3 separate regions of the Homo sapiens genome follow, and all the other regions are linked to region 3. The links are contacts of gene promoters, found by promoter capture Hi-C in blood cells and fetal thymus (Javierre and others, 2016). All regions are on one chromosome and are shown on one strand. Each heading gives the region's core, a stretch centred on a gene start or on the middle of the fragment in contact. The rest is flanking DNA. Distances are from core to core; before and after follow the strand shown. Region 1 has its middle 110 kb from the start of FASLG. Region 2 has its middle 130 kb from the start of FASLG. Region 3 holds the start of TNFSF18 (TNF superfamily member 18).

Evidence for each region. The method cuts DNA at HindIII sites, captures the fragments that hold promoters and counts their contacts. A CHiCAGO score of 5 or more calls a contact.
Region 1: a fragment that was not itself captured here is called in contact with the fragment with the promoter of TNFSF18 in region 3 in 4 of 17 cell types (M1 macrophages, M0 macrophages, M2 macrophages and 1 more); the score reaches 9.6 in M1 macrophages.
Region 2: a fragment that was not itself captured here is called in contact with the fragment with the promoter of TNFSF18 in region 3 in 4 of 17 cell types (naive B cells, activated CD4 T cells, monocytes and 1 more); the score reaches 6.5 in naive B cells.

The regions. Positions count from the first base shown.
Region 1 is chr1:172,764,829-172,767,540 of GRCh38, reverse strand. No RefSeq gene overlaps it. Among named protein-coding and RNA genes, the nearest start is that of FASLG, 110 kb to the right of the region's middle. The HindIII fragment of the contact is 856 bases long and covers 888-1,743 here.
Region 2 is chr1:172,789,031-172,791,730 of GRCh38, reverse strand. No RefSeq gene overlaps it. Among named protein-coding and RNA genes, the nearest start is that of FASLG, 130 kb to the right of the region's middle. The HindIII fragment of the contact is 482 bases long and covers 1,132-1,613 here.
Region 3 is chr1:173,049,509-173,052,208 of GRCh38, reverse strand. TNFSF18 (TNF superfamily member 18) reads left to right here and starts at 1,268. Exons shown (of 3, transcript NM_005092.4): 1 at 1,268-1,468. The coding sequence starts at 1,313. The HindIII fragment of the contact is 4,458 bases long and covers 1-2,700 here.

The sequences.
Region 1 (2,712 bases), core at 66-2,565, 280 kb after region 3:
TCTGAGCTACAGAACTGTGAGATAATAAATGGATGCTGTTTTCTGCTGCTAAATTTGAGGTAATTGGTACAGCATCAATAGAAAACTAATACAGCCCAAGAAAGTTATATCATGAGGCTAACGTAAGGAGCATCTGACTAAGAAAGGAGCAGAGAGTGGCTGAGTATCCCTTTTTCACAAGGTTATTTGAGGAGCACTAAGTTTGGGGTTATTTAACACTCTTGTCTTTCCATTAATATATTTGCCTATCTCCAGACTCCGTGCTAGGGAAGGATATATTTCCAAAGAATTTAAATTAAGCAAGGTCTCACCAGCAACCTAATCTGTACCTTTTAAAAATAATAGGATAAGCTGGGTGCAGTGGCTCATGCCTGTAATCCCAGAACTTTAGGGGGCTGAAGCAGGAGGATCACTTAAGCTCAGGAATTCAGCGCCAACCTGAGCAACATAGTAAGACCTCCTCTCTAGTAGAAATTTTAAAAATTAGCTAGGTGTGGTGGCACACACTTATGTCCTAGTTACTAGGGAGTCTGAGGCAGGAGCATTACTTGAGCCCAGGAGATTAGGGGTACAGTGAGCCATGATTGTGCTACTCCTCTCCAACCTGGGTGACACAGCAAGCCTGTCTCAAAAAACAAATAAATAAATAAATAATCAAATAAAAATAATTGGTGACTTTCAAGACATAAAGTAAGAAGAGTGTCCTTTGAGGGTTGTGATAGATGGCATTACTATTCTTCCAAATATTCCAGTTCCCCTTTCTGTGATGTCCTTCCCTGTAGGAGGATTATGTATTATCCTCCATGACATCAGCTTTAGCCATGTGATTTGCTTTGGTTCATTACATGCAAGCAGAAGTGATGTTTTTTCACTTACGAGCAGAAGCTTTAAAACACAGCATGTGATCACTAGGCTCTATTTCCCTCTCCCATGAGCCCAGCAACACCACAGTTAGAGGCCACGCCGTCATCCTGGGTCCCACAGTGAACAAGGCATGGACCAGAGCCTCAGTCGGTCAGTGATGGACATGTAACTTGAGCAGGAAATAAACCTGTATATCCCACTTGGATTTGGGGGTCATTAGTTACCACAGCATAACTTAGCCAAGCTGACTGATATAAGTCCTATAACTTGCCAACCTCTTTAATGACTGGGAGTCATTAAACAAGGCCCCCTAAAGCAAACTGTTTCAGTTCAAGTGGATATATGTAAAAGGCTCTTCTTGGTTATGCAGATAAGTTGAGTGACATTATCGAGGGAGGGCAAAATGCCTTGAGTAATACCTATATTGGTTAAAGAAGCATAGGCTCTGTCACAACAACGGGTAGATTCCCAAATCTCAGAAACTCACAAAATTAAAATTTCTCATGTAGACGAGCTCCAATGCAGGTTAATCACTCTTCTGATGGCTCCCCTCTAAGTAGTGATTTAAGGCTCATGCTGTTCCCAACTTGCAATGCAACCATTTTGGAATCCTTATTTCCAAACACATAGTTAAAGAGCTCATGGAAGATCTCACAGAAAAGTTTTTATAGCAAGGCCCAGGAAAGGTAAGGCCCATATTCTCTAGGCAGATTTCATCACAGATTCCACCTAGTTGAAAGGAGGACTGGAAAATGAAATCTTCCTATGTGACCAGGAAGAAAATAAAATGGTTCCATGAACAGTTACATTTTATCTGCTATAGTAAGGTAGTATTTTTACAGGAAAAAAGATATAAAACATGTTGAATTTTGAGAAGCTTTAAAAAGGCTGTGTTGCCACTTGGATGATAATGGTTAACAGGGAAGAACATTGAATATTGGCTCTTTGAGTAATAGTTATTGGAATCCAACCAGACCTCAGTATTGGTGAGCTTGTGCCTCTGGATGTGTCTGTGTATGTTAACCAAAAGTGCTTTCTGCTAAAGCCATATCCATACGGACTGAGTGTAGCCACTTCAGAAATGGAGGTGTCTGGACAACCCAGGGCCATGCTGCTTCAGTGGACAAGCAGCACTGGAGGGACATACCTGACTTGTCTTCAGCAGCAACCCCAAGTGGTGATGGGCAACATACTGTTCAAAGCCCAGTTCTCCCTATACCTAGCATTAGAAAAGGACTGATCTCTCTTTGGGTCAAATAAACCCTGGAAGGAATTCTTAGGGGAATTTAAGAGGGGGAGCTTCAAAAGCTTCTTTTCACTTACAAGAAGAAACTTTAAGAGACAGCATGTGATCACTAGGCCCTACTTCCTTCTCCCATGAGCCCAGCAGCATCCCGGTTAGAGGCCACACCAGCATCCTGGGTCCCACAATGAAGATGACATTGACCAGAGCCTCAACTGGTCAATGATGGACATGTAACTTGAGCAAGAAACAAACCTGTATATCCCACTTGGATTTGGGGGTCATTAGTTACCACAGCATTTTCAAAAGAAAATGTGTTGCAATTCAAGAAAATAATTTGTAAACTAAAAGATGTCTCATATTTGAATAACAAATTTTTTGAGCAATTCATTCTGGTTTACTAAAGAGAGATATAGTATAAAGATAATAGAGGAGTGGAATAAGAGCATCAAAATAAAAGAAATCTAAGGGAGAGAAGTAAGCAATTCATCTTGATTAATTTTATTTTATTTTTAATCAATAACCCCCAACATGGCAGCAATGCAAACCACATAGGCCAGCTGGTCAGAACAGTACCCACTGAGAGATGGACAGTTTTGTGGGAG
Region 2 (2,700 bases), core at 123-2,622, 260 kb after region 3:
CATAATGCTAAGAGTCCTTTCACAAAAACACACACATAGTGTATAATTCCATTTATAGGAAATGTCCAGAATAGGCAAATCCATAGGGACAGAGAACAGATGTGTTATTTCCAGGGACTAGGGTCAGGGAGAATGGGGAGTGATTCCTAATGGATACAAGGTTTCCTTTCTGGGTGATGAAAGTGTTCTGGAATTAGAGAGTTGTGATGGTTGTACAACTCTGCAACTCTGTGAAAATACTAAAAACCACCAAATTGTACACCTTTAAAAGATAGATTTTTATGGTATATTAATATCTTACTAAATCTATTATTGAAAAACAAATTAGGAGAAGTATAATAGGCAAAAATGACCACACTTAACTGCCCCCCTACCAGTCCTTCTGTATTCTATGACCTTCCTCCTTTCCATCCTTCCACATTCAGGCTGAGCCTTCCTTCCACTCTCTCTCTTTTCTCCTCCATCTCACTTATTCAGATTCTCCTAGAAATATCAGCCTGGTTCACCCTGGGATTTTGAAGGCCCTCTGCTTTGCCTTCCTTGCTTTGCATATGAGTACTCTGAATCACAGAGAGGAGAGGTGACCCACCCAAGGCTTTGGAGTTAAGAAGTGATCAAGCCAGGGGATCTGCAATGAGAAGTGTTCTCTCTCTGGCCCCTCAGTGCTTCCTATCTACCTATGCAGAAAAATGGCTTGCTAAAGATCTAAGAAGCACCTGGATGGCCCTCCTTCCCTGAGAAGTTAACTTACTATGGGTTAACTTCTGGGCCTTCCAGCCTAGACTTTCTTCTTCCTGGGCTCTCTCTTCCTCTTTCCTCTGTCCTCTGCCTCCCATTACATTTTCATCTTCTCCCCAAACCTCTCTTCTACATCTCACCCTACCCACCTTTGAATCTAGCAGCTTTCCTCTGAACCTCCTTCCCTCCTCCATTTATCCCCACATTTCCTCCAGAAATCTCTGCTGATGCGTCCCCAGGCTCACTCTCCCAAATCTGACAGTAAAACAAGAATATATAGGCAGTTTGGGCCATGTGTTAGAATTATAGTTAATTGCCAAATTTCCTTGCAGCATATATAATGGATAAAAGTAGCAAGTAAGTCTTTAATATGCATTGTTAGCTTCTGAAGCTTCCTTATTCCTTGTACATATTTTATCTTCCTCCAAACACCCATGAGTATCATGAATAGCATCTAACAAACTTAGTTAAGCATAAGAAAGTAACTGACACATAGACCACGAAAGTGAAAAATTTACATCATTATACCACACATACACACACACAAACACACTCATACACTCACAGAGAGAGCAAGAGAGACTCGAATGCCTAGCATTACTGTAATTTTTGTCTCTGTGAGTGATCTTGCCTGCTACAGCTAAGAGAGTTTCCTAAAAACTGATTAAATTGATTGGGTTAGAATAGTTTTAACCCAATTTCTCTTTAATTCCTCTCAGAAGTGAGAGTGGGGCTCTCTCTGACCCCTCATATTTCCAGGTTCTAGGCTCCAGGGGCAGAGAGCTGCTAATAGCCAAGTAATAAACCCACATGCCTTAACTAGGCTCTGAGGTGGAAAAAACAGACAAGTTGGCTTCATACTAACAACAGAAGCTTTAGCTTGTCACCTTCTTCCATTGCCCCAGGGCTGACAGGAGGGCCAGTGTTATGAACATATAGCCTGTGCAGTCACAGAGGTCCACGTGCTTAGAACGAAACCATGCTTGGTTTAATGCTCTGCCATCTCTGTCTTGAAATTCTCAATTACTTTTTAAGTGGGTGCCCTGCACTTTCATTTTTCATTGAATCTCACAAATTATTTAGCCAGTCATAACCACAGTCACCTGTGAGAAGAGTGAGCATGTGCTAGGTCAGTATTTGGTCCTCTTCTCCCTCACCTCCTTGGTTTTGTAGCAGATTTCTCTGATCTTCTCCTGCTCCTGATGTGGGGGATAGAAAGGTAAAAGGTAAGGGAGAGTTGAGAAGAAAATATTTTCCCAAGTGCATAAATAATCAGTTGAGGGTCACCATTCTGTTCCCTAGGAAAGATGAGGGTTTTTTCAGCTTTTCTTTTTAATTAAGGAGGAAAGAGTCAACCATGTAAGATGAGACAATGAAGTGTGGTATGTGTATGTATGTGTGCATATATTAAAGAAGTTTCATTTTCTATGTGCCAGACACTGCATCAAGAATTTTGTGTATATAATCTAATTTATTCCTCAAGATCAACTATGAGGTAAATATTACTATTATTCCAACTTACACATGGAGAAAATGATTCTTGGAAAAATTAAATAGGCAAGGTGGCAGAGCAAGATGGCACAACACCAATTTAACAACTGTCTACACATTAAAAAAAGCATCTTCATAAGAACTAGAAATCAGGCGAGCATTCACAGTACTTGGTTTTAACTTCACATTGCTGAAGACGTAGGAAAAACAGTCTTGAATTGCGGACACTACCCCTTCCCCATTCCCCAGCAGCAATGGCAAAGTGCAGACAACATTTCTGTGCTCTGGGGAGAGGGAGATCACAGCAATTGTGAGGCATTGAACTCAGTGCTGCCCTATTATAACAGAAAACAAAACCAGACCAAACTCAGCTGATGCCTGCCCATGGGGGGAGCATTTAAACCAGCCCTGGAGCTCTTGAAAGGCAGTCTAGGCCACAAGGACTGCAATTCTTTGGCAAGTCCTAGTGCT
Region 3 (2,700 bases), core at 19-2,518:
TTCTCTCTTAGATTAAAAAATAGGTTTTCCAAAATACTTTCATTGTACTTCCTTTTGTTTAAGTAAACTTTAGGTGAATTTTATCTTGTGGGAAAGATAAAGAATGTTCATTCTTTTCTAGGATTTAATAATTGAATTAAACTTCACTACATCGCTAAAGAGGGTAGAGAAGAGATAATCTAACATTTATGGAATGCATAAACTTTTCACCTTCATTTCATTCTCCACAAAAGCATTATAAAGTGAAAATTTTCTCCATTTTACAGTGAAGGAAACTGAAGCTCAGAGAACTCAAGTAACATGCCTAAGGCCACAGAGCAGGTAGGAACTGGGCAGTGCCAGCCTCTGCTCTTGAGGTCTGTCTGATTTAAAAGCCTGTGTGACTGAGGTCCATAGAACCAGGAGACTTCCTCAATTTTGTAGTAAACCCATATTTTTGGGCCCAGGAAGAAAACCCAAGGTTTTTTTTTTTTTTTTTTTGGAATAGAGTATAAGCTCTGGCTGAGGGCAGGATGCAGGAAAATATCCTTCTGTAAAATAACTTCTTATGCCAGAACTAGATTATCAGAGTTTAAAAATGATGAAATATAAAATTGAGCTTGTTGTATTTACAATTTTTTATTAAATTCTTGTAATACACTTGATATTTTCTAGAGACTCAGAATGAACGCATTCTATACACTAGAAATTGATGAAACATTTTTGTGAGTATAGATTTTATTTTTCCAGGTTTACTGAAGTATAATTGACAAATAAAAATTGTGGGTATTTAAGGTAAACAAGATGATGACTTGATTAAAACTCTATTTTTTCCAAACTAGAGATCCTAGCCTCTCCAACTTCCTAACACTCTGCCGCTCATGTACATGATATCTGGAGTATGGTAGGGGGATTAATCTCAAACTTTATTTTTTCTTATAAAAAGTGATTTTCTTATCTAGAAATAATCTGGAATACTTTCTTAGATGAGAGCACACCACTTTATTCTCCCAAGCCTCCTCTACACGTGCACTGTACTGCCGTTTGATTTAGGAAAGAAATTTTTTTCCCCTCTGAACTTCCCTTGTGCTTTTTTTTTTATGTTCTGAGTTTGTGTTGGCTTTCAGCCTTCCGTTCCTTTTGTTGTATTTGATCTGGTGCCAAATGAGAGTCAGCACTTAAGTTATAAGTATCATTTTCTAACACAGTGACAGAAGGAAAACTCCGCCTTCCACACCCACTACTAATTACCATATTGCTACAAAACATGACATTGCATCCTTCACCCATCACTTGTGAATTTTTGTTTTCCACAGCTCTCATTTCTCCAAAAATGTGTTTGAGCCACTTGGAAAATATGCCTTTAAGCCATTCAAGAACTCAAGGAGCTCAGAGATCATCCTGGAAGCTGTGGCTCTTTTGCTCAATAGTTATGTTGCTATTTCTTTGCTCCTTCAGTTGGCTAATCTTTATTTTTCTCCAATTAGAGGTAAGGAGGCAATTGTACCTAAGGTTACTATTTGCTATAATCCTCTATTTATTTGTTTTTCTAGTTGTTATCATTGTCACTCAGTATTGTTAGCAATAGTTGGAAGGAAGAGATGTGTATACATAATGTAAATACAATTCTAATATTGTCATGACATGGCGTTTGAAGTTTATCTAAAGGTTTTGAGATAAAAGGTATCAGAAAATGCTAAATGTTAGCTGCAGAACTCTGTTAGATAGAGAGAACTGGTTAAGCCAATTGACAGGGGCCTGTGGAGTATTTTTCCTTCCCTCTGCTATAGCTCTTGGTGGAATAAAAAAGGTAAAAATATGAATGAATATCAAGGAATGGGATGCAAGCTATAGTCTTATTTATGGAAAAGACTTAAAAAAATAGTGAAAGACAGGATTAAGTAAATGACAGGTGGTTTGTGTGTCTTTGAGGAGGGAAGTGGCCCTGAGCTAGGTGTAAGAAGATCTGGATTCTGGTTCTGGGTCTCCTAATAACCAGCTGTATAAATTTGATAAAGACATTTAATCTCTCTAGTTTGCAGCTTCTTTATCTAAAAAAACTGGTGGTAGGGGAATGGATTTATTATGATGTTTCTTCTAGCTATAAAATGTCATGATCAAGAATTTATTTAAGGGTAGTATGAAGAATAAATGCCTAAGTCACTCAAAAGCAGGGAACAATGACTTTAGATTGAGTTGATCAGGGAAGACTTCATGGAGGAATGAGAAAGCCCATATCTATTTGGGAAGCCCCTGATGCTTGTCAGGAATTTCCCATTGAGATGCAGGCCAAGCTGTGGGCCTAGAGAATGGGATGGTACACTGGGAATGGAGATTAGTTTTGTTCTTTACTAAAAAATCTTTCCTCACAGTTAACTACGTAGCACTGATCAAAAAGAAAATAAGAAATGCTTTATTTATTTCAGGATTTAGCCTATTTCTGGCTAAATTTGAAGACTCTAAGTTTTGGGGAGAATAAAGTGGCATATGTCCATCTGAGAAAGAGTTGAAATGTGACTGCAGAAACACTTTTCTTAAGGGAACTGACCAGCAAAGATTTCAAAGATATAGTTCTACCACTTAAGATAAGTAAAAGTAATTGAGAAAAGATGCAGGAGGAAGCAGTCCCCTATTGATATTAATTTAGAGTAGGTATAGCTTTGGCCAATTTTTCCACAGTAGCCCATTAATTTGTATTCCATAACTGTATACAAGGCTTAT